Linked DNA regions of Homo sapiens: regions 2, 3, 4, 5, 6 and 7 are each linked to region 1. The links are contacts of gene promoters, found by promoter capture Hi-C in blood cells and fetal thymus (Javierre and others, 2016). All regions are on one chromosome and are shown on one strand. The core of a region is centred on a gene start or on the middle of the fragment in contact, and the rest is flanking DNA. Distances in the headings are between cores, read along the strand shown. Region 1 holds the start of UBE2N (ubiquitin conjugating enzyme E2 N). Region 2 holds the start of PLXNC1 (plexin C1). Region 3 overlaps LOC124902986 (a long non-coding RNA gene). Region 4 overlaps LOC124902986 (a long non-coding RNA gene). Region 5 overlaps EEA1 (early endosome antigen 1). Region 6 has its middle 68 kb from the start of PLXNC1. Region 7 overlaps EEA1 (early endosome antigen 1).

The links. The method cuts DNA at HindIII sites, captures the fragments that hold promoters and counts their contacts. A CHiCAGO score of 5 or more calls a contact.
Region 2: the fragment with the promoter of PLXNC1 here is called in contact with the fragment with the promoter of UBE2N in region 1 in 1 of 17 cell types (naive CD8 T cells); the score reaches 5.3 in naive CD8 T cells.
Region 3: a contact is called between a fragment that was not itself captured here and the fragment with the promoter of UBE2N in region 1, in 4 of 17 cell types (total CD4 T cells, fetal thymus, naive CD4 T cells and 1 more). The highest score is 8.7, in total CD4 T cells.
Region 4: a contact is called between a fragment that was not itself captured here and the fragment with the promoter of UBE2N in region 1, in 4 of 17 cell types (naive CD8 T cells, fetal thymus, naive CD4 T cells and 1 more). The highest score is 6.5, in naive CD8 T cells.
Region 5: a contact is called between a fragment that was not itself captured here and the fragment with the promoter of UBE2N in region 1, in 4 of 17 cell types (naive CD4 T cells, total CD8 T cells, non-activated CD4 T cells and 1 more). The highest score is 8.3, in naive CD4 T cells.
Region 6: a contact is called between a fragment that was not itself captured here and the fragment with the promoter of UBE2N in region 1, in 1 of 17 cell types (activated CD4 T cells). The highest score is 5.1, in activated CD4 T cells.
Region 7: a fragment that was not itself captured here is called in contact with the fragment with the promoter of UBE2N in region 1 in 1 of 17 cell types (non-activated CD4 T cells); the score reaches 5.9 in non-activated CD4 T cells.

What each region holds. Positions count from the first base shown.
Region 1 is chr12:93,440,425-93,443,973 of GRCh38, forward strand. UBE2N (ubiquitin conjugating enzyme E2 N) reads right to left here and starts at 1,523. Exons shown (of 4, transcript NM_003348.4): 1 at 1,431-1,523. The coding sequence starts at 1,460. RefSeq lists silencers at 739-858, 889-1,028, 1,179-1,388, 1,469-1,928 and an enhancer at 1,421-2,058. The HindIII fragment of the contact is 12,907 bases long and covers 1-3,549 here.
Region 2 is chr12:94,146,643-94,150,191 of GRCh38, forward strand. It overlaps PLXNC1 (plexin C1), which reads left to right and starts at 1,935. Exons shown (of 31, transcript NM_005761.3): 1 at 1,935-3,391. The coding sequence starts at 2,330. RefSeq lists silencers at 1,702-1,831, 1,842-2,091, 2,162-2,391, 2,522-2,761, 3,422-3,549 and an enhancer at 2,962-3,061. The HindIII fragment of the contact is 5,941 bases long and covers 1-3,549 here.
Region 3 is chr12:94,120,497-94,124,045 of GRCh38, forward strand. The region is part of intron 1 of LOC124902986 (a long non-coding RNA gene); the gene reads left to right. Among named protein-coding and RNA genes, the nearest start is that of PLXNC1, 26 kb to the right of the region's middle. The HindIII fragment of the contact is 544 bases long and covers 1,718-2,261 here.
Region 4 is chr12:94,103,433-94,106,981 of GRCh38, forward strand. LOC124902986 (a long non-coding RNA gene) reads left to right here. Exons shown (of 2, transcript XR_007063409.1): 1 at 1-184. Among named protein-coding and RNA genes, the nearest start is that of PLXNC1, 43 kb to the right of the region's middle. The HindIII fragment of the contact is 1,868 bases long and covers 602-2,469 here.
Region 5 is chr12:92,781,350-92,784,898 of GRCh38, forward strand. It overlaps EEA1 (early endosome antigen 1), which reads right to left. Exons shown (of 29, transcript NM_003566.4): 23 at 601-786. Among named protein-coding and RNA genes, the nearest start is that of PLEKHG7, 80 kb to the left of the region's middle. The HindIII fragment of the contact is 1,541 bases long and covers 770-2,310 here.
Region 6 is chr12:94,078,916-94,082,464 of GRCh38, forward strand. No RefSeq gene overlaps it. Among named protein-coding and RNA genes, the nearest start is that of PLXNC1, 68 kb to the right of the region's middle. The HindIII fragment of the contact is 1,790 bases long and covers 683-2,472 here.
Region 7 is chr12:92,907,449-92,910,997 of GRCh38, forward strand. The region is part of intron 1 of EEA1 (early endosome antigen 1); the gene reads right to left. Among named protein-coding and RNA genes, the nearest start is that of EEA1, 20 kb to the right of the region's middle. RefSeq lists a silencer at 1,732-1,932. The HindIII fragment of the contact is 180 bases long and covers 1,694-1,873 here.

The DNA of each region.
Region 1 (3,549 bases), core at 273-2,772:
CTTCTCTCATTTCTAAGAATTTCTACCATACAAAAACGTCTTATTTCTCTACATCAGCACCCTTAGGTCAGTGACATCTCCCTCATCTCAGATATATTTAAATGCAATTGGATGAAGCAGTATACAGTACATCATCCTCGAAGCCTAACAGGTCTTCCACTTAGTATGCATCTCCCCACAGATTTCACAAGAATGAGCAAGATTAACATACACGTTCACCAGGTTATATCAAGCAAAATGATGCTGCAATTGAGTCACTTTAACTGGCGCATTTAGTCACATAAATGTGCAACTAATTTCCTTCATAAAAACCGACACAAAAATTTAAGGTTTAGTTGTTGTGATGACAAGGAATATCTCACGTCTGAAGACTTGTCGATATTTCCTTAAGACTTTACAAAATCAAAGAATCGAAAATGTCATGGTTCCATACATACTTGTCAAAACACAGTATTCATAAACAGCCAATTAATAATTAAAACGCACAAAATTGAGGGGCAAAAGATTTCACGAGATCCCCCACAGAGGCCAAGGTAGGAAGATCTCTGAAGCCAGGAGTTTTGGAAGCCGCCTGGGCACTATAGCGAGGCCTCATATCTACGAAAAAGAGAGGAGAGGAGAGAAGAGGAGAGAGAAAGAGAATCCCCCATAACTGCGGCCCTCCCCCAGCCTTGTGTTAAAACTATTTCCTCGGAACAGCTCTGAAAGAGTTTGCCAACCAGAGTAAAATCACTTCGCAGAGATAAACGAGCGGAAACGTATTCAGAAGAGAGAGATCGCGGAAGCAAGGGCAGCGGGGCGCGGGGCCCCCACGTCCCGGGACCCAGGCAGCCGCGGCAACCAGGGGCGAGCATGTGCTGACCGCGGCAGGACGCGCGGGCCTCCCAGAGCCACTTCCCGGGGCGCAGGGCCCCGCCCGGCCTGACCCTCCCGGTTCATTCATTCTGCACCCGCGGTTGCCGCACCTCCGCGGCCCCGTCGGGGCGGAGAAGAGGGGCTTGGCTGCCGAGGGACCTTGTCGGGCCACAATCCCCACCAGGCGCCCGAGCCCCGCCGCGATTCCCGCGCGCCCGCGGCCTCCGGCGGGGGGGTGGTCTCAGAAGCTATGGAGGCCCGCGCCCAAGCCCAGAGACCCCCAGCCTTGCCGCCCCACCCTCCGCCGGGGCGTGGGACAGCACTCCCTGGCCCGCCGGGCAGCCGCCTGGAAGCCCCGGGTCCCCGCTGTCCGGCTGCCCCGCCGCGGCCGGAAGTCTCCCCGGCGCCCCCTCCTCAGCACCCGACTTCCCTCGCCGCCGCGGCCAACCCCTCTCCGCGCCGCCTCGGGCCTCCCAGAGCGGGCCGCGGGCCGAAGGAGGCGAGAGGCCGCGCTGCCTGCCCAGCTGAGCCGACGAGAGCAGAGCGAAGAGCTGGAGGCCGGCCTGGGCGGTTACCTTGATGATCCTGCGGGGCAGCCCGGCCATCTTGTCAGAACCCGAGTTCGGCCTCTGGTCTCGTCTCCGGCTCCTCTCGCCTCACGCACGAGTGGAAGTCCCGGGCTCCACTTCCGGGGGACGTTGCCGCGCCCGTCGCCGCAGCCGCCGCCGAGGCCCCTCGGGAAATGTAGTCCCTGCTCGGGCGCGGGCTCGGGCACGGGCGGGCTTCCCTCCGACCTGGCCCCCTCCCCCGTGCGCCCCGCCCCAACCGCTGCCGGGGATGGCGGAAGTGACGCTCTGTTGCGGGGCAGGGACTTGGGACAGGCCGCGAGGGGAGGCGCGGGGCTCTGGCGCTCGTGGCCGAGCCTGCCCGCGACGGTGGTACGGCACGACCCGCGCGCGACTGCGCGCGCGTCTCTCTTAACCGTGGCCACGCCCGCGCCGGTGGACGACGTAACAGAGGCCTGGCCTACGACGTATCCCATTCATTCATTCACGCGTTCGTTCTTTCAGCTCACGCGTTCGTTCTTTCAGCTCAGCCTGCATTGCGCGCGTTCCCTGCTGGCTCTGCAGTGAACGACTGAGGTGGGGCTCATCGTCTTGCTCCTTCCTCAAAGGGAGGGCAAGACCGAAACTCGGTGGCAAAGCTCTGACTGGGGGTCTCTCCAGTTACTCACACGCTGTTGGGGGAGTTTTGATGTTTAAATTGTATAAATCGGACCTCTGACACGCCCCTAGGCCCAGGGTAGGCTGAAGGAAAAGGGTTTGGAGCGAGTTGGAGGCGGGAAGAATGGTTCTGAACGCCTAGACCTAAAGGTTGAGACTCAGAATTGTTAACAGGACGAATGACCAAGGAGAGGTTTAAAGAACCCAGAGTAATCCGTAAAGCAGAGATTACCTATAGAGTGCGAGGTCCTATGAGAGAATTAGAGTGGGGGTGCCCGAAAATTGAATTGTTGGGGAAGCGTTTTATCCTGATGACGGATGGTTTGCTGTGTGATGGACTGTTTGCAAGCACTTTACTTCATCTTCACAGCAATCGTGAGGAGGTGTTGTTTCCATTTTACAAATGAGGCTTAGATAGTTAACCTTTTCCAAGGAGCTGTTTTGTCCCCAGGCAGATCCGCCAAGACCTGGCCCTTAACTACTTAACCACAGTGTTTCCTAGCACACTAACAGACAGTAGATGGTGAATAAATGAAGACAAGACTGACCGTGCCTTCCAGGAACTTAGATTCCAATGGAGAAGAGAGACCAGTAAACAATTAGTTACAATCCAATGTGTTAAGGGCTGTCTGTAATACAGGTTCCTCCAAGGTGCTATTTTAGCAGAGAGGCATTAACTGCTTGAGAACTCAGGGAAGCCTTCTTAAATAAGTGAAGTCCTCAATGATGAGTAAGAACCTACCTGACCTTGTAGGGAAGAGTATGCCAAGCATAGGAAATGGCCTGTGAAATGGCATTGAGCTATGAGAGAGAAAAAATAGTGCACTAAAGAAACTGGAACTCTGAATACAAGAAACCTACTAAGAACAATAAGAAATATTTTGTGCTGGCACGATGCTAAATGGTTAATAAATTTAATACATCATTCAATTATGAAACAGATGAAGTAGTCTCTATTATTAACAGAACGTTTTAGATGAGAAGCCAAGGTTCAGAGGTAATAATGAGAATTTCAAATAACCAGAAGTCTGCAATAGGTGGTTCTGTGACTAGAAGAATCTGCAAAAGTAAATGAAACTGGACAAAGATACTTTTCAGAATATTTTATAGAGGACCCAGGATAATTCATGCTGGTAGGCAGAAAGGCAGAGTGCTATTGTGTTGGGAGTGTGTAGGTCTGCAGTCTGGGCAGGGCTTGGCAGGAAGGCACACTCTGCTTGTGCTGCATCAGCCTGTGCAACCAGAAGATTGGCTTCCATGATGGTTCACAAGGCGGGCAAGTTGGTGCTGGCTGTTAGTTTCACTCCAAGTGGGCCTCTCCCTGGGGCATCTTGGGCTTCCCCATTGCATGGTGGCTGGGCTCCAAGAGTAAGTGTTCTAGCAAGCTGAAATGGACACTAAATCGCCTTTTTTGACCCAGCCGTGGAAATCACATGGCCTCGTGGAAGTCAAATGGCATCACAATAACCAT
Region 2 (3,549 bases), core at 685-3,184, 710 kb after region 1:
CCTCCCCTCTCCTTATGGACACTCCAACACCATCATCACAGCACAAAGGGCAACCTCATATCTCGTGGGAAGGCATTTTCTGCCTCCTGCCAGGCAAAGATAATGTTATCCAATTGCAAATGAAAGGCTTATGAATGAAAAGATGACCACTCTGACTTTAGTGTATGAGAGCCACTGCTGAAATGATAGGATCCTTGAACTTCACATCTAGAGCAGAAACTCACACTTCTCTTCTTCTCCCTCCACCTCACCCTTCTTTCCTTAAGCCTTCCAGAACTCCTGCCATATCCCTCAGCACTGGGGAGAACTTGAAGCACTGTTGGAGAAGTTTGAAACCTGCAACCTTCGGCAGGACTCAGCATGGGACAAAAGCCACCTCATTCCTTTCCCTTCCCAAAACAGCATCTCGAGCTGGGGAACTTGGAGGGAAGGAAGAAAGGGGATAGCAGCCAATTGCCCTCCCTGGGGCCTGGGGTCTGGAAATAGCCTGGGAAGGAACAGAGATCATTTCCCAACGATCCATAGAGGTCCTCAGCACCCTCCACTCCTATGCACCCCCTGGCTCATCTGCCAGACTGTAAGGGTGCTGATGGTGCCCGCAGCTGCCCCGGGAAGCTGGGAGGCATTTGTGCATCCTCTGGGAAGCCCCATTCCGAGAAATCATGAACCTATTCCCCAGTGGGCAATGATTCCCTGTGCTTCAGAAATTCTTGGCGGCTGTGGGGGCAACCCAGCTGTTATTCACCCTCTGGGTGAGGTGGTGAGACCTCAGGGGGTCCAAAGGATAAAAGTGGGTAATGATGAGACAGATGGAGAGCCTCGAGGGAAATACGGGGACTTGGGTCTAATAGTAGAAAGCAGGGCGGGGGCTGGTTGGTGCATTTAACTTGAGGAACTTTTCAGTCTCACTACAGAGAATGATCTCTGGGGGATTATGGCAATGGCCACAGGTGGCACTTAACTAGAGCCAGGTATGTAAGAGGCCCTGGGGCTAGATATGGATTCGAATCTCGGCTCTGATATCTACCAGCAGTAGAATGCCAGCACGTTCCACAACCTTTCTATAACCATTCTCCTGGACTACTAAGTAGGGATGACAATAACAGTCACTAATTAATAGGGCTGTTATGAGAATTATGAGTCTTAACCCATGTGGTGAGTTCACAAGCGCACCCGGCACGTAGTAAGTGCTCAGTAAATGTTAGCCCCGCTCATTAGGTTAGATGGTGAGCAGAACTTTCCAAGTGCTAGGCTTGAGAGCCTGGGACTCTGTTGCCAAGGGAGATTAGAGAACCTTTGCAAATATGGGCGCTCCGGCCCTGGGGATTGTCCAGAACGAGAGTGTGGCGCCTGCCTTTCTGCCACCTCACTCATCCGACCCGGGGAAACCCACACCCTGTCACAGGGGCGCCTTGGTCCCCGGAGTCTCCGGCTCGGCCATGTCTCCCGCGCGCCTCCCCGGGGCCTCCCTCTCGCCGCTCCACACCTGTCAGCCGCTCTCGCAGCAGCCCTGTGGCCCGAGCCCGGGGCCTCAGCTGCAACCCCTTCGCACCCTGGATCCTCGCTCCGCGCGCCTGGCGTATCCCCGACCCGGCTGCTGTCGTAAACAAAACCGGGCGTTGGAGCAGCACCGCGGGCGGACGGGCGCGGGAGCCCGCTCCGTGCGCCGTTAGCGCGCCCCGGGAGCCCCAGGCGAGCCAAGGGGGCGATGGTGGCGGCCGCGGCGGCCGCGGCGGGCGGCTGAGCTTTGTTATGAATAGATGAAAGAGGCCACCTACACAGTAACCCAAATTACGAGACCTCCCTCCTCCCTATCTCACCGAATCAAGAGGGGAGGGGAGATGGGCGTGGAGGGAGGGCGGGCGGGCGGGCAGGAGGCGGAGGGCGGAGGAGGAAGAGAGGATGAGGAAGGGGGCCAGTTGCATCCCACTTTCACAATGGGAAAGTGAAACGCACAAGCGCACCCAACCTCTCCAGCCCTCCCCGCCCGCCTCGCTCCTCTCCGCCCGTCCCCTCCCTTCCCCTCCGCGCCTCCCCGCGAGCGCCAGCGCTGCACACAGGAACTCTCCGGCGAAGGAGGGCGAGGAGGAAACGGTGCCGGAGCGCGCAGGGCTTGCTGCCGCCACCGCCGCTGCACAGGCTGCCGGAGCGAGCCTGCCGCGCGCCGCCCTCCCCGCTCTCCTTCCTGGGCGAGCTGCGGGGATGGGGCGGCCGCGGGAGCCCGAGCGCGCGCAGGAACCGCCGCCGCCGCCGCCCGCGTCTCCGTTGCCGCGCGCCTGAGCCGCCGTCGCCGCCGCGCGCCCTGCCCGGGGGCGGCCCCCCCAGCCCCATGGAGGTCTCCCGGAGGAAGGCGCCGCCGCGCCCCCCGCGCCCCGCAGCGCCACTGCCCCTGCTCGCCTATCTGCTGGCACTGGCGGCTCCCGGCCGGGGCGCGGACGAGCCCGTGTGGCGGTCGGAGCAAGCCATCGGAGCCATCGCGGCGAGCCAGGAGGACGGCGTGTTTGTGGCGAGCGGCAGCTGCCTGGACCAGCTGGACTACAGCCTGGAGCACAGCCTCTCGCGCCTGTACCGGGACCAAGCGGGCAACTGCACAGAGCCGGTCTCGCTGGCGCCCCCCGCGCGGCCCCGGCCCGGGAGCAGCTTCAGCAAGCTGCTGCTGCCCTACCGCGAGGGGGCGGCCGGCCTCGGGGGGCTGCTGCTCACCGGCTGGACCTTCGACCGGGGCGCCTGCGAGGTGCGGCCCCTGGGCAACCTGAGCCGCAACTCCCTGCGCAACGGCACCGAGGTGGTGTCGTGCCACCCGCAGGGCTCGACGGCCGGCGTGGTGTACCGCGCGGGCCGGAACAACCGCTGGTACCTGGCGGTGGCCGCCACCTACGTGCTGCCTGAGCCGGAGACGGCGAGCCGCTGCAACCCCGCGGCATCCGACCACGACACGGCCATCGCGCTCAAGGACACGGAGGGGCGCAGCCTGGCCACGCAGGAGCTGGGGCGCCTCAAGCTGTGCGAGGGCGCGGGCAGCCTGCACTTCGTGGACGCCTTTCTCTGGAACGGCAGCATCTACTTCCCCTACTACCCCTACAACTACACGAGCGGCGCTGCCACCGGCTGGCCCAGCATGGCGCGCATCGCGCAGAGCACCGAGGTGCTGTTCCAGGGCCAGGCATCCCTCGACTGCGGCCACGGCCACCCCGACGGCCGCCGCCTGCTCCTCTCCTCCAGCCTAGTGGAGGCCCTGGACGTCTGGGCGGGAGTGTTCAGCGCGGCCGCTGGAGAGGGCCAGGAGCGGCGCTCCCCCACCACCACGGCGCTCTGCCTCTTCAGAATGAGTGAGATCCAGGCGCGCGCCAAGAGGGTCAGCTGGGACTTCAAGACGGCCGAGAGCCACTGCGTAAGTCCTGCCCCCGGGGCGCCGCGGAGAGCGCTGCTGCCGGGGAGCCGCCGCCGCCGCCGAGGCAGAACGAGCTGGGGGCGAGCGGCGGGGCGGGGGTACAGCCGGGTGACATTTACCAGGTCTCAGGTTCACACCGCGGGCGGCCGTCCGAAGGC
Region 3 (3,549 bases), core at 740-3,239, 680 kb after region 1:
CTTTTCTTTCAGGCCTGCAGGGAGTCATTTTGTACACAGTGCACAGCATATTATTTCCTAGCATTGTGGAAGCTGGAATGTGTTAGGGAATTTAAGCAGTATCTGTCTTCCAGAGCTCTAATGGGCCATCCTGATCGTTCTTGCATTCTAACTGTATTTGTAGGGATCTTATCAACGAATTTCCTTCTCATAGGATCTCTGCTCTTTGCACAATTCAGAGGTGTCTTCTTATTTAATACAATATACAACACCATGGTATTACTCTAATGGATGTTCTAAACTGAACAAGCCAAGCTTTTTTTTCCTTATGCTTCAGTTAAATTTGTTTTCATATCATTTTTCTGGATCCTCTGATTAAGCATGTCAGATTTTTTTAATTTTATTATTTTTCTGGATCCTCTGATTTTTTTATTTTATTATTTTTCTGGATCCTCCAATTATTTATTATTTTTCTGGATCCTCCGATTTATTTATTTATTTATTTATTATTTTTCTGGATCCTCCAATTAAGCACGTGTCAGACTAAGGGGTCCAAATTTTGGCTGTATATCTGAATTCATGGCACTTTATTTTAATGTAATTAAATTAATTAATTTTGAGACAGGGTCTCACTCTGTCGCCCAGCCTGGAGTGCAGTGGTTCACTGCAACTTCCACCTCCTGGGTTCAAGCAGTCCTCCCACCTCAGCCTCTTGAGTAGCTGGGACTACAGGCGTGGACCACCATGCCCACCCTTTTTTTTTTTTTTTTTTTCCTTGGTGGAGACAGGGTTTCATCATCTTGCCCAGGCTGGTGTCGAACTCCTGGGCTCAAGTGATCCTCCTGCCTCAGCCTCCCAAAGTGCTGGTCTCATAGGCATGAGCCACCACGCCTAGCCCTCATGGCACTTTAAAGAAAATACACATTCCAGGCTGGGTGCGGTGGCTCACGCCTGTAATCCCAGCACTTTGGGAGGCCCAGGCAGGTGATCACTTGAGGTTAGGAGTTACAGACCAGCCTGGCCAACATGGTGAAACCCCGTCTCTACTAAAAATACAAAAACTAGCCAGTTGTGGTGGTGGGCACCTGTAATCTCAGCTACTTGGGAGGCTAAGGTAGGAGAATTGCTTGAACCTGGGAAGTGGAGGTTGCAATGAATCAAGATCACGCCACTGCACTCCAGCCTGGGCGACAAGAGTGAGACTCCATCTCAAAAAAAAAAAGAAAGAAAGAAAAATACACATTCCAGGTTCTATCTCTTGAGGAGCTGGGATTGAGCCTGGGCATCCACATTTTTCAAAGTTCCCCCACATGATCTCAGTGCTAAAAACTGAGACTCATGGAATGTTGGACCAAAGAATCAAGAGACCCATATTCTGGTTCCTGACTTTCCTACACACTGGCCTCTCTGAGCCTGTTTCCCATTCTGTAAAATGGAGAGATAGGAGCCCTGTCCTACTTTTGTGAGTTTAAAGCATAAGAACTTGTGTGAAAGAATTTTGACAAGGAACTTTTGTATTTATGGTGGGAGGGATCTGGTGACCAGCAGTCAGACACCACCTGCAAACAGGCCTGCGATCTGGTCACTTGGTGACATTTCCACTGGGTTCTCGTGGTCTGCTTGCCTCCATCACACTATGCTAAAAATGGGTAGAGAGTGGGTGGAGCTCAGAATACTTTAACTCCAGTGTAATAGTGTGGGCAGCTTCCACTTAGTTAGGTACTTCTGGACAAATGGAAGCTTGTCTGCATGCAGCTATATTTATTTCCAAAATAACTGGTGAGATACCCCCACGAATTTGAGAACATTCATTTCTGTTTTACCTGTTTTGAGACCTTTAGACCATGAGATTAGAACGCCCCAGGCATGATCAGGAGGCAGAAGTACACAGGTCGTCTATTCCCAACCTCAGAGCTGATGCTCAGGGTAAATCCACAGCCATTCGATGTAGGGACGTTTTAATTTGGGAAATCAAATGCAGGAAAGATATTACCTTACTGTTCATTTCAAGCATCTCACACACACCATTAAATGCCCCAAACTAGGCTACTATTGAACCTTAACCACATACAAATTACGTATTTACCCAAATACTCTAACATGCTAACAATCCTTTCTTTTGAAACTTCCTGGTTTAACCGATCTGACAAACAGATCCTTCATTTCTGTTCGCTCTATTTTATTCATTCAGTGTATCACAAGTTGACCATAGCAAGACGAGAAATGCATTAAGGATCATGATTTTGCAAAGCATTAATAAGGATACTGGGACAAGGAAGTTAAGCTTTTGATGGCCTTGATACAACTATTTCAAACTTCTCTATTTCAAACTGACTTCTGCACAAGGGCACCACATCTAAAGGACCATCATTGATAGTAAACACAGTTAGTTTGTATATTTATTATGATAGTTTTCTGGCAGATGATAGTCATGTGTCTTATTCTAATAAATCAGCCCATGACAACAATTTTCCAACAGAAGTAAGCCAAGTGTCTTGAAGAAGGGGTGGGAGTGTGCCTTTTGTAATTCACACACAGGGGCAGTTTGGGCTACATGCAACCCAGAAAGGATTGTTAGCATGTTGGGGTATTTGGGTAAATATGTCATTTGTATGTGGTTAAGGTTCAATAGTAGCCTGGTTTGGGGCATTTAATGGTGTGTGTGAGATGCTTGAAATGAACAGTAAGGTAATATCTTTCCTGCATTTGATTTCCCAAATTAAAATGTCCCTACATCAAATGGCTGTGGATTTACCCTGTCCACTGATCTCTTCCCTGGTCATCCCTGATCTGGGGACAAGTCTTCTGTCAAAAAGGGGCTGAGTGAGCAGCAGCTGGGCTTTCCCTCTCCGCCCTCTCCAGAGCAGGCTCCTTGTGGTCTGCCAGCCACAACATAAAAGTGGAAGTAGTAGTCTGGCTTCTTCTTGGTCAGTTTAAGGTGAGGAGTTTTGTGGGGTTTTTTTGTTTTTTGTTTTTTGTTTTTTGTTTTTTTTGAGTTTTTTTTTTTTTTTTGGAGGTGGAGTCTCACTCTGTCGCCCAGGCTGGAGTGCAGTGGCGCGATCTCGGCTCACTGCATCCTCCACCTCCCGGGTTCAAGCGATTCTCATGCCTCAGCCTCAGGAGTAGCTGGGATTACAGACACCTACCTCCACACCTGGCTAATTTTTATATTTTTAGTAGAGATGTGATTTCACCATGTTGGCCAGGCTGGTCTCGAACTTCTGACCTCAAGTGATCCACCCGCCTCGGCCTCCCAAAGTGCTGGGATTACAGGCATGAGCCACCACGCCCAGCCAGAGCTATTTTTTTTTCTACATTACACTTTGAAAACAAAAAACTTCCCCTCCCCTTTCTCTCTGTCTTCCTTCCCTGAGCTCTGTTTGTGTTGTCCCTACTAATCCCAGGACATCCCCTGTGGAGCTGGAGCTCTTTCTTCATTTTTTCCTTTTCTCCACTTCAGGTCTTAACTTTAAAAACATCTGGGCTATTCCTATACCCAGCCCTGGGTGTCTGAACCTGTTCAGGGAGGTTAGGGTACTGTTGATTGCCCCAGACTCTGAGGTTTGGGCA
Region 4 (3,549 bases), core at 286-2,785, 660 kb after region 1:
ATGGGTGTTTTAAGCTGTTATGTTTGCAATGTGTTATGAAGTCATAGGAAACTGATACAGATGGTCATTTCAAAGAGGGGAACCACATGACAAATGCTCAGAGCCATAAAGAAGCAGAGAACTAAAGTCATTCAGAGAACTAAAGACATTCGGCATAGCTGGACCATGGGGAGCAAAGGAGACGGTAAGATGTACTCACGAGAACTTGGCTTTGGATCAGAGAGAATGTGCCCTTGGGCTAGTTAACTTAGCTCTCTGTGCCTCAGTTTTCCCAAAGGTAAAATGGAATCATAATTATAGTTAAAACATAGAGTTGTTATGTTAGTGGCCCATAGGCATATAGAAAGTTCAACACAGCCTTGGGATATAATAAGTGTTCCAAAAATGTTAGGTAGTAATAGCTTTAGTAATTAATCATGTAGTTAATGGACTGGAATAAGAAGAGGACAAGTCATGTGGTTTTTACAGAGTGGTCTGGGGACCATCTGCACTGGATGATTCCAGCGGTGAGCTTATTAAAAACCCACATGCCTGGATTGTACCTTGGTCTTACCAAATCAGACTCTCTGGGGGTAGAGCCTGAGAATCTGCACTTTCAAGAAGCTTCCAAAGTGATCTTTGTGATAACCACCAAGCAAGAAATAAGAAGACTTGTAAGTAGGTCACTGTAGTAGTCCAGGCAGGAGTGGCTGATAAAATCAAGCAAGGCACTGGCAATGAGAACAGGGAGCGGGTGTGGCACTCTTTGAGGCAGATGGAAACTACGGAACTGAGTAATCAGACAGGGGTGGTGGAAAGGAAGGAGGGCAGAGGATGAGCTGGAATCACCGTGGGGAGGTGAGTTCGGGGAGGATTGACTCAGATTGGGTCATGAGAGTCCAGACATCTGTGGGGTATCCAAGTGGAATGTCACATAGACAGTTAGAAAGACTAAAATGTAGGAGGTACATTGGTGCTAAAAATACAACGTTAAGTGTACATGAGTCCATGAAGTAATGGGATGATGCTGGCAGAATAGGAAGATGGTCAGGAACAGAACTTCAAATGTACCAGTTTTGGCCAGGTGCGGTGGCTCACGCCTGTAATCCCAGCACTTTGGGAGGCCCAGGCAGGCAATCATGTGAGGTCAGGAGTTAGAGACAAGCCTGGCAAACATGGTGAAACCCTGTCTCTACTAAATATACAAAAATTAGCTGGGCATGGTGGCACGTGCCTGTAATCCCAGCTACTTGGGAGGCTGAGGCAGGAGAATCACTTGAACCCAGGAAGTGAAGGTTGCGGTGAGCCAAGATCGTGCCACTGCACTCCAGCCTGAGTGACATAGTGAGACTCTGCCTCAGAAAAAAAGTACCAATTGTGGGCGCTGGGGGACCTAAGAGACTGAGAAAGAGCCACCAGAATGGTTGACTGGGTGTTGGGTGGACAGAAGTCCGAGGGGGTGGCCGTCAGCCAGCCTTGGAGCAGTTCAAATGGAAAAAGTCTGTGCACATGCCTGACACCTAGTCACCAGCAGATCAATGGTGGGCTCAGCAGGGCTCCTTTCAGTAGGATGAGGAAGGAGGGAGCCAGACTGCAGCCTGGGAATGTACAGAAGGCAAGGAAGTGGGGATTGTTCTTTAGCAATGTGGCTGTGAAAAAAGGAAAAAAATAGGGCAGGAATTAGAGATTCACACAGCCCTTCCTCTCCCATTGCATTGGTGCAAACCTACACACGTGACTGAAAAACATGGCTGAGCCGGGCAGCCATGTGGTGCCTGCTGAACCCAGATTGTGGCAGAAGTGGAGGGGATAGGTAGGGAGGGTGAGGCTCTCAGAGAAGGAAGGGGAGCCTAGGTGCTGAAGACCAGCGGTGCACCGATGTTTACAAGTGTAGGGCTGGACCACGAGGCCAAGAAGAAGCTGGGGTGGGGATGGGGTTTCTCTGTGGGGATGGAGGCATGGGGAGGATGGCGGTCAACGGGCCAAAGGATCACTGAGCTGTGTTGAGGGCCCAAATGGGGTTAGGGGATAAGAATCCAGTGTGGAGAAATGGTGCAACTTTGGGGAAATGTCCTCAATTATTCTTTGCCTCAGTTAGCTCATCTGTACTGTCTTAGTCCATTTTCTGTTGCTTATAACAGAATACCTGAAACTGGGTGATTTATAAATAGAAGGAATTTATTCTTACAGTTATGAAGGCTGAGAAGTCCAAGGTCGAGGGGCCACATTTGCTGAGGGCGTCCTTGCTGCTGGGAGCTCTCTGCAGAGTTCCAAGATGGTGCACAGCAGCACAGGGCCAGGGGGCTGAGCATGCTAGCTCAGGTCCCTCTTCCTCTTCTTATAAAGCCACCGTCCCACTCCCTGGATAACCCATTAATCCATTAACCCATATATAAATTAATCCATTCATGAAGCCCAAGCCCTCATGACCCAATCACCTCAAGGCTCCACCTCTCAATACTGCCATGCTGGGGATTCAGTTTCAACATAAGCTTGGAGGAGACAAATATTCACATCATAGTATGTGCCATGGAAATAATAGTAATGCCTCCCTAAGAACACCTTATAGAGGATTCCCTGAGATGACATTCAAGTGACCGGCACATAGTAGCATTAACAAATGACAGCTACCAAGAGGATTATGGTTACTATTTTATAAGTCAGATAATGACATGTCTCTGTTTAGAACCCCCTGGTCGCCTTCCATCTCACCCAAAGTGGAAGCCGAAGTCCTTAACTAGGACCATGTGGTCATGCACAATCTGGCCTGACACTTACCTTTCCCTTGGTTCCCTCTGCTCCAGCCACCCTGACCTCAATGCTATTCACCAAACACATTCCTCTACCAGCAACACTCTTATCCTAGTTGGCCTTGTGGGTCATTCCCTCCCTTCCTTCAGGACTTTGCTCAGTGTCACCTCCTCAGTGAGACCTTCCTTGATCTCCTCAGTTTCAATTTGAACCACCCTTGCCCCATCCCCAAGGGCTTCTTGCCCTCTTCCCTGCTTTCTTGCACTTCCCACTGTGGCCATGCTCAGGGTTTTATTTATGTGCTTTCTATTGTCTGCCGTGCCTAATTAGAATGCTTTTCTTTTGCTCACTGAAGTATCCCTAAGCCCTGCAACAGTGCAAATAGTTGGCACTCGGCAAATCTCGATCATGCACTAAAGTCTTGGCTCAAATGTCCCCTCTTTTAGAGAGCCTCACCTGCCATTCTATCTAAAGTAGCCCCCCAATCACCCCTTATCCCCTGACTGCTTTGATTTTCTTCATGGAACCATACCTGGTATTATATATTTGTCTATTCACTCATTGCTTGTCTCCCCAGCTAGATGCAGCAAGGTCTTAGTTGAATTGACTGGTACATCCCAAGTGCCTGTAATAACACCAGGTACAAACTAGGCACATGATACATATTTGCTGAATGATGGTGGTATCGTTGTTATTTACTGTTATTATTAATAGTGGTATTAGAAAGCAGAAGATAAGGAGTAGTTGATCCCTGAGAGTGGAGTAGGGCAGGGGAGGACTATCCTAAATGGATAGTGGAAGCTACAAGAAGGAACAAGA
Region 5 (3,549 bases), core at 290-2,789, 660 kb before region 1:
TTCAGGGAATATACACTGCAGAGTAATATCCTGTCAGCTAACAGGAATATATGATTTCAACTATAAAACAAAAAATAAACTCTTTCCTAGGATCTGAATTTTTCTTTCATACAGAATTTAAAGTGATTTTTAAAATGTACTGGTCATATATTAGTAAACCAATGCTTTCAACTTTGAAACTTAATAAACTCCTTAGACAATCTGGTTCTTAATTTTAAGAATTCTTAACATGTTTAAGAATTATTTCTAGATCTTTTATTATCTCATTCACACATCTAAAGGATAATACGTTATATGAGAAATAGTTGAGGAACTATATTATCTTTTCTGCAATAACCAAGGGTCTATGGTGTGAAAAATTGACTTGTTTGTAAAACTAAAGAGCAGTAAGAAAAAAGGGTAGAAATAACAAGGAGGCCATTAAGAAGTACTTCCTAGCATTAAAATCCCAATGATCAAAAGTGTCAGAAACTAGAGGTCCCTCTGAGAGAGCTGTTGAAAATAAGGATGATGCCTGTACTAAATAAGAGGTTTGACTGGATGATCTCTAAGACAACTGTAACTCTAAGATTGTAGATTTAGGTCAGAAACATGCAATACCTTTTCTTTCTGAATGTCTTGTAGTGCTTTACATCGCTCCTGCAATTGCTGTTCTTTCTTTGCTGAATCCTGCTCCAATGTAGCCTTGGCAGTCTTCAGTTCTTGAATCAATTTATTTTGATTTCCAATTTGATTTCTGTTTGAAATCAAGTCCTCCTGTGCTAGAGAAAGCTTCTCTTCTACAGACTTACAAAAACAATTTTCCCAAATTATTATATGCCATGTTTTTAGTAAATTCAACAGAAACATAGTTAATATAAACATTGTAGAAAGCAATAAACTATAAAAAGATAGCATATTATACCCTTCAGTAAGACAGGTAAAAGAGAAAGAATTCTAAAATATTAACTCTCTTGCTTATAGAAAACATTTATAATATAAAATATTTAGTAAAATGGAAGCAATTCCAAAGCCTCCAAAAATAATCTATTTACTAAATAAATATTTAAAGTATTTGCTGAATGTTGATCACATCTTCAATATTGGCTAGTTGATATGAAAGAATACCAAATAAGTAGGGACCATATCAGATACACTCAGAGAACATATATATGGTTAAAGTCATAAGGCAGTGTGAAAGAAAACAATCTTAAAAGAGATATAATTAAATGCTTCATTATGCATACATATACATTTGGTAGGTTCTATGATGTCCCTTGACATGCTAAAAATATTAATAAATAGTATGGTGTTATGATATAGTGGTTTTTGTCCAGGGTTCCTGAATCACAACTCCCACATCCTTTGTTACAGTTTTTTGTTACAATGTTGGGTATGTTAGGCCTCAGGAAACAGAATCTCGTCTCCTGCCCTTCTTCCACTGGTCCCTAGGCAGGCCTCTAATCTTCTTCCCCACCCCATTTTCTGATTGTGAGTCTTAAGACTCTTCCCTGAAAGGGTCCTGCCTCATACCCTGGGTGAAAGAATGCTTCCATAAAAATCCAAGAGAACTGGGTTTGGGGAACTTCTAGATAGCTGAACATACGGAGCCTGGAGGGTGGCATGCCCGGGGAGGGCACGGAAGCTCTGTGCCCCTTCCCCCATATCACCCAACACATCTCTTCATCTGTATTCTCTGTAATATCCTTTATAATAAATCAGTAAATGTAAGTAAGTTTTCCCTGAGTTCTGTGAGCTGTTCAGCAAACTAACTGAACCCAAAGAGGGTGTCATGAAAACCCCAACTTGAAACTAGCTAGTTGGTCAGAAGTTCTGGAAGCCTGGATTAATGATTGGTGTTTGGAGTTGTAGGGAGCAGTCTTGGGGATTGAGCCCCCAATCTGTGGGATTTGATACTATCTCTAGGGAGATACTGTCAGAATTAAATTGGAAGACACACAGTTGGTGTCTGCTTCTTGGTGTGTGTGGGAAAATCCCCATATGTTTGGTCACAGAAGTCTTCTGTGTTGATGATTGTTGTGGTGTGAGAGTAGGGGAAAAACACAATTTGAGAGAGTTTTTCCTGAAACAAATAGGAAGGATTATTTTGTCATGGAATAAAAATAATAACAACTTCACAGCTGACAACCTGATCAAGTGAACAAAAAGAGAAAATTCAGCCAAACATAGAATGAGGCTCTATCCTGAGAAAGCACACTGTCCTCTTCTCATCTATATCGTAGAAGTAGTGATTGTCATTTAACATAGTCCATAGTTGTTGACTGTTTTAAAGCCCAAGTATTTTGAGAAGAAGAAGTTGGGGAAAGGGGAAGCTTTTTCACTCATGACACTTCAGTTGGGGATAAATATGGTAACAGGTAGATAATGGGTATGGTAGGAACCTTGCCACTCTCAGCTGCTACTGCGAAGAATCAGCAGGGTAAGAGATCCAACTGATCTCTTCCATCAGATCTGGAAAAAGCTGATCTTTCTTATTCTGGAGATACAGCTCCTTTGAAAAGGAGGCAGAAAACGTAATTTAGCAAAGGATCCTTGCTGAGTAGGCTTGTATACAGCAAGTACTCAGTAAAAAAAAAAAGAAAGATGAAATAAATAAATAAAGATCTTATTTATGAGGATTCTTAAGCTTCCTGAAAGTTTACTTCTTACCAGTAACCCAGTTACGTCTTTCTGATATAAATTAAATCTTAATTTTCAATGACTGCCAGTAGAACACTAAACCCCTTGAGGCTTTTTTCAGGGAAGAATTAACATCAGCTAGTTCTTCACTAATCCAGCACCTAACCATTAATTGAGAACACTGCTAAGACAGAACAGGAGGGTACAAGCTGGTCTTTGACTTAAGGGAGTTGAGTACATCGCCCAAAAAGCAGAACAGCCATGTAAAATGGAAGCTACACAGGGCAGGAGAGTATACGCTATGTGCCAAATGCACAGAAAAACAGTGAGTGTGAGATGCTGTGGAGTGGGGTTTACAGAAGGCTCTATACCACATGTGGGAACTGACCTATATGTCACAAAGGGTGAGAGTGATTTCACATAAAAAAGGAGAAAAGTTGACAAAGTCCAGTTCAAACAGTCTACAGCAACTATAATTAGTTAATAGAGATCCTGATCTAATGTTTAAAAATACCAACGCTTGCTAGAGCCTGGAAAGCAACCCTAACCTCTAACCACAAGATTTCCAAAAAGCCCATGGTTTAAATAACAGCCTATAAAATGTTAAACTCACAAAACCCAGTGACTGATTTTTTAAAGTCAAGCTCAAAATTTGGACTGCTCCATGAAATCCTTTCTGAACATGCCAAGACATGTTTTCCCCTGCCTCTGAACTTTCATCTACATCATTCAATGACATAGATGAACATTTATACTGCCATGCATTTTAAATGTTCTTTTCATCTTTCTTATTGCAGATTATAATAATATTGCATATTATTTCCTCTGCTCAGCATCTCTTCCCTCGGAGAACCCTCTCTCCCATTCCATGGTTTTGTTGGGACTATCTCTAACCCATCTACTCCCCTTGAAATAGGCAAATCCCTAAAT
Region 6 (3,549 bases), core at 328-2,827, 640 kb after region 1:
GCCTTGAGTTCAAGATGAAGACTTGAGATTTGAGTCATTGGCCCATAGTTCGTCTATTTGAAACCATGGGAATGGGTGAGACCACCCGGGGACAGTGAGGAGTTCAAGGTGGAGGCATGATGTCCTCTGGCAAGAATGCTGTCTAAGGAGACACAGAGATAAGACAGTAATTGGAGGGGAGCAGGAGGTAAAGGGAGATAGTGTTTTGCTGTTTTTGTGTTTTAACAAACACTTGAGATTGTTGAAATGTTGCTGATGAAGAGGAATGGGGTGGGTGGGGAAAGAAAGGATTAAAGTAGAGTCTATCTTCTTTGTTCACAGATTTTGTATTTGCAAATTTGCCTACTCACTAAAATGCATTTGTGACCCTAAAATCAATAATCACGGTGCTTTCATGGTCATTCCTGGATGGGCACCTGTTCAGAGTGTCAAAAAACTGGATCCTCCTGATACACTTGTCCCCAGCTGAGGTTAAACAAGGCAATGCTCTGCCTTCCTGTTTCAACTCTCATACTATAAATGTGTCCTTTTCGCAGAATATTTAGCGTCACATTTTTCACGTTTGTGCATTTCGTTGGTGATTTCGCTGTTTAAAATTGCCTGAAGCAAAATGCCGAAGTGCTGTCTAGTGTTCCTAAGCCCAAAAAGCTGTGCCTTATGGAGAAAATATGGGCATTCAATAAGCTTCTTTCAGGCATGAGTTAGTGCCATTGGTTGGGAGTTTAATGCTAATGAATCAAGAGTATATGGTAAATAAGGTATCTCTAGACAGAAATATGCATAAAATAGGATTATGTGCCGATCTGTTGATGAAAATGTTGTGAACAGAGCCTCACCGGAAATAACCCTGTATTTCCTCTAGGTGCAATGATCCCATATTCGCTAATTAGTGTTGGCAGTAACTTTATAAAATGCAACTACTACACATAATGAGAATCAACTGTGTAAGAGAGAGGGAGAGTCAGAGGCCCCAGAGGAGGATTTGGGTGGCGTGCTTTCAGGTAATGGAGTAGTCTGCTAGAGTCCCTGATCTTGTCATGCAATAAGTGTGCTAGACCAAAATATTCCTTTTAACTGAAGACACCACCAGGAGATAGCTTTCAGCTGGCTTTGCTCTGAACAAGCTGCCCTGGCACATGAAGTGTGGGAGGATGGGTAGGAAAGGGAAGTGAGATCAATAAGGAGACATTGAAAATAAAATACGGGTGGAGAGAGAAAGAGGGTCTCCTTTTGTTGCTCTCTCTCTACATTGCGCAATTTATAAAGTTTAATGGGGGAGCCTTTTCTGATGATTTCTTAGGGACTCACAGATTTTACATTCCTGCTTCTTCTGGTGATACCGAACTTTATTTTGATCCCTACCCAAAACTGTACAGTTTAATCTTCACTTTGCCTATGCCTTGGCTCAAAAGGAAGTTAGTTTCAGGCAATTGAGATTTGGCATTACACAGTAATCTCTTTTTTATTAACTCATCTCAGCAGCTGAAAGCATTGAAAAAACACTCCAACAATATTGTAACCAAAAAAAAACAAAAAGCCAAAAACATTGTAACCAAGTTTATATCCTGAGGGAAACACTAAGAACAACTTTCCCTCTTCATCTCCCTTTACCCTATATGAGAAAAGCAAGGCTTCTCTATTCCCAAAGTGAGTTCAAAGTAAAGGAAAACATTGCTTTGTTTTACGTAACATGCATATTTTGAAGATAGGAACAAGACTTCAGGAGAAAAACAAGTTCTCAAACACTGACCGTCCTTACTAGGCTAGGTGAAGTTACAATGAAACTCTGATGTTGGGGGGGAAACTGACACCTGTTCTATTTCCACGTCAGGTCACAAAAGGCAGTACCATCTGTTGCCAAGTATCAGAAACCTCTCTCATCCAGCCCCTGACTCCACTGATTGCTAATTTATAACTGTTTAGAGATGGCTGGGCCAAAGCTCACTTCTGTTCTATCTGAACAAAAGAGGCTCTTAGCTGACTAACAAGGTAAACAAGTTCAATTTATTTAACTAAACATACTTTTTTGCAGATTATAAATTTAACAGAGTTTGCTAACACTAGTGAAATTTTTTTTTTATTTTTTATAGTCTATTAATTAATAGACTATATTTTTGAGTAGTTTTAGGTATACAGAAAAATTAAGCAGAAAGAACAGAGTCCCATATTCCTCTTTTCCATGCACCCCACCCCCCCCCACACACCAAAATTTCCCCTGTTATTAACTCTTGCATGTCCAAATGTGGTACATTTATTAAAACTGATGAACCAATACATTATTATTATTTACAGTCCATAGTTTACATTAGGGTTCACTCTTTGTGTACAAAACATAATTTTAATATGTGTTAGAGGCACTGAAATCATAAAAGTAAAGCTACCACTTGTAGAGAAATCTCCAGGTCACAATGCTTTGTCACAAAAAAAACCCAATTTTTTCCTTTATTTCGAACTCACTTTGGGAGTAGAGAAAGCTTGCTTTTCTCAGTGTTACACGTAATGCCAATAACCACTGTCACAAACATAATATTCATCATAACAGTCCTGAAGATGGGCTGAAACTCTTACTTATAGAAAAGGAGCTGACGTTCAGAGAGGCAAGCAGCCTGCCAAAGCTCCTACAGCTGTAAAATGGCAGAGACAAGATGGGAACCCAGGTCTTCTTAGTTCTTTGCCAGTTATGTTAATGCTAATTTTTAAGAGGCCACTCTTAGCCCCATGTCTTCCTCACATTCAGATTTCTGTTTCTAAGCAGAGGATTAAGATGCACACTGCTCATGTTTCCACTGAGAAACAAACTGTGACAAGGCAAATCAGATGGCACTTGGTCAAATACATGGCTGGTTAGGGGACACAGGTATTAATTATTCTTTTGGGCTTGGACATCAAGTCTATACTTACAGCTAATTTACTTGTCTGTCTTCCCTCTAGACAGCAACTCTAGAAGAAAAAGAACTATGTCTACTTGCTTGCTATTGTCTCTTTGTTGCTTACTTACTGCCTGGGACAGAATAGCAATTAAACAGCAGTTACTAAGCATGTCGATGGAAGGATAGCTAACCCCATCGGTAAGGAGTACTAACCATACACACTGCCTCTGGAATCACTTTCTGATATCTTCCCTTTTGCTTTTCTGGTAGTTTTCCAACTACTCTTTCACATTGCCTTTTCTACTTCTATATTTTGGGCCTTATAATTTCAACCATATCCTATAATTACAAGATCATTTGAACCAACACCAAACGTCCCAATCATTTTCCTTTCCACTACATAACAAGACTCAGACAGCCTACCATTTCTCTTAAGATAATATTTACATCTTTGGTCTGCGTCCAGTACCCAGGTCCATGTGCCTGTGGATGTGTCAGTGCAAATAGCTCTTGCCTTGTCCCTTCTCATTAACATGAATGGCAAAAAGGATTTGAGAGAAGGAATATTGGGTATTCCAGGAAATCTAAGCTCTAAATCTAAGTTCTGCTTGCAGGTCTTTATGTAATGGAAACCTGTTTCGCTTTGAGTTTCTTAGCCACAAAATGGGAATAATATCAT
Region 7 (3,549 bases), core at 534-3,033, 530 kb before region 1:
ACTCTTACTTGTCTCTATTCCTTAACCTTCACATCCAATCACCAAGTTAATTCAACTGCCCACTTAAATTTTGAATCTATCCCCCTTTCTCCATCTCCTTGGCCACTACCTTAATTCATGTTGCAATCATCTCTCACCTGGACGATAAAAGAGACCTAATATAGCACTCTATACCTCTACATCCACATTTGTAGTTGTTTACTAAGAAATCAAGCAATGGATTTCTCAAAGCATTGTAACCAAACCAAACTCTTCATTCATCTCAACACTTTACCATCCTAGGAAAAAGTTTACTTTCCTCACTATGTTCTCCAGCTTAGTCAATAATATCCTCATTTATCAAGAACTTCAGTTAAAACCTAAATGAACTATTAACCAGGCATGGTGATGGGCACCTGTTATCCCAGCTACTTGGGAGGCTGAGGCAGGAGAATCACTTGAACCCAGGAGGCGGAAGTTGCAGTGCACTGAGATCACACCACTGCGCTCCAGCCTGGGTGACAGAGTGAGACTGTCTCCAAACAAACAAACAAACAAAAATTAAAACCTAAATGAACTAAAACAGATATTTGCACACCAATGTTCATAGCAGCATTATTCACAATAGCTAAAACATGTAAATAATCCAATGTCTGTCAACGGATGAATGGATAAACAAAAGGTAGTATATACATCCACAATGAAATATTATTCAGCCTTTAAAAGGAAGAAAATTCTGATAACATGCTGCAACATGAAGCTAGAAATAATTATGCTAAGTGAAATAAACCAGACACAAAAGGATCACTATCGTATAATTCCACTTATATGAGGTACCTAGAACAGTTAAATTCATAGTGACAGGAAGTGGAATTGTGGTTACAGTGGGTTCAGGGGAGGGGAGGAATGAAGAGTTATTGTTTTATGAGTATGGAGTTTAGTTGTAATGATTGTACAACAACGTGAATACATTTCATGCCACTGGATTATACACTTAAAAATGGTAAAAATTGTATCTTTTAAATTACGTATATTTTGTCATAATTTAAAAAAAATTTTTTTAAAACCTAAATAAGTATTATATTGCAGGCATTACCATACAGACAAAATAATTATTTTAAGTATTTAAGAATGCAGAGTTTCTACTACATATCCTTTTGGGATATAGCACAAAGCCAAAAAAAATTGCTAAAAAAAGAAACAGTAAAATTAATTCAATAATCTTAGCCATAATATTCATATTGTTAATTTTAAAGCTATTTATGTATATTTTAGCAAAAAACATTTGCTAATGTTAAGAACCAAGATATTCAGTATAAGAAAAAATGATATAAATACAGAATCAAATAAGTAAAAAACCATTTTATATCTTAAATTTGAATTATCATTTGGGTTTTTGTTTCATTTTTTTCCTGAGACAGAGTCTGGCTCTCTCACCCAAGCTGGAGTGCAGTGGTACAATCTCAGTTCACTGCAACCTCCGCCTCCCAAGTTCTAGCAATTCTCCTGCCTCAGCCTCCTGAGTAGCTAGGATTACAGGCGTGCACCACCACACCCAGCTAATTAGTAAAGATGGGGTTTCGCCGTGTTAGCCAGGATGGTCTTGAACTCCTGACTTGTGATCTGCCTGCCTCGGCCTCCCAAAGTGCTGGGATTACAGGCATGAGCCACCGCGCCCAGCCCTGTTTCTTAACAATAATTCTTATCATTCAAAAGCTTAAAAGCAAAGACAACCCAAAAGCAAAGCGCACCCTACGTGCTTATACTATGGTCTCTAACCATCACTCCCCACTCAAAGGAACCAGAATTTTCTAGAGAAATGGCTGATTCCAGACATGGGAGAGGGAATTTACAAGATAAATCTGAAACATATTATTGTGCCAAAAAGCAAGGAAGCTTTTTGAACACAAATAAGGTCCTGTCAAAATGACAAACGTCACCTTGAAGGTACTCCCAGTAGCTAAAGCTGAGATCATTTTCACATCAGCAAAACACATTGACTGTAATTGACTGAAACATGCTAAACATATGTAAATCCGTGAGTTCATAATATAAAAATCCATGAGTTAGTCAACTAATCTTTGACAATGGAACAAAGGCAATAAAATGAGAAAAGATAGCTGTTATCGCTTGAATGTCCCCACCAAAACTCATGTTGAAATTTAATTGCAAATGTAATGGTATTGAGAAGTGAGGCCTTTAAAAGGTGACTAGGTCATGGGAGTTCCACCCTCATGAATGGATTGCCATTATTGTGAACATGGATCAGTTATCATGGGAATGGCTTTGTTATAAAGACAAGCTTGTGGCCGAGCATGGTGGCTGACACCTGTAATCCCAGCACTTTGGGAGGCCGAGGTAGGAGGATCACTTGAGCTCAGGAGCCCAAGACCAGCCTGGGCAACATGGTGAGACCCCGCCTTAATAAATTTAGGTTGGGCACAGTGGCTCACGCCTGTAATCCCAGCACTTTGGGAGACCGAGAAGGGTAGATCACCGGAGGTCAGGAGTTTGAGACCAGCCTGGTCAATGTGGAGAAACCTTGTCTCTGCTAAAAATACAAAAATTAGCCAGGTGTGGTAGCAGCCACCTGTAATCCCAGCTACTTGAGAGGCTGAGGCAGAAGAATCACTTGAACCCAAAAGGTGGAGGTTGCAGTGAGCCAAGATCACGCCACTGCACTCCAGCCTCGGCAACAGAGCAAGATTCCATCTCAAAAATAAATAAATTAATTAAATTTTAATTTTAAAAAATTAACTCAAGGTCAGGCGCGGTGGCTCACACCTATAATCCCAGCACTTTGGGAGGCCGAGATGGGCAGATCACGAGGTCAGGAGTTCAAGACCAGCCTGACCGACATGGTGAAACCCATCTCTACTAAAAATACAAAAATTAGCCGGGCATGGTGGTGCGCACCTGTAATCCCAGCTACCCAGGAAGCTGAGGCAGGAGAATCGCTTGAACTCGGGAGGCGGAGGTTGCAGTGAGCCAAGATCATGCCACTGCACTACAGCCTGGGCGACAGAGCAAGACTCCATCTCAAAAAAAAATAAATAAATAAACTCAAAATGGATCACAAACCTAAATGTAAAACACAAAACTATAAACCCTAGAAGATAACATAGGAGAAATTACTGTGGTTTGTCCATTATTTTTTTAGGTAGAACACCAAAGGCGCAATCCATGAAAGAAAGAATTAATAAGCTGGACTTCATTAAAATTTAAAATGTCAGCTCTTCAAAAGACATTGTCAAGAGTAAAAAGACAAGTCACAGACTGGAGAAAAATATTTACAAAAGACAAACCTGATAATGGACTATTATCCAAAATATACAAACAACTCTTTAAATTCAACAGTAAAAAAATAAACAATCTAATTTAAAAATAAGGCAAAGACCTTAATAGACAGGCATCTTACAAAAGAAGATATACAGATGGCAAATATGCATATGAAAAGTTGCTCCACAGCATACACCATCAGGGTAATGCAAATTAAAACAATGGGATACCACAACACAGCTAGTAGAATGGCCAAAATCCAGAACACTACCACCATCAAATGCTGACAAG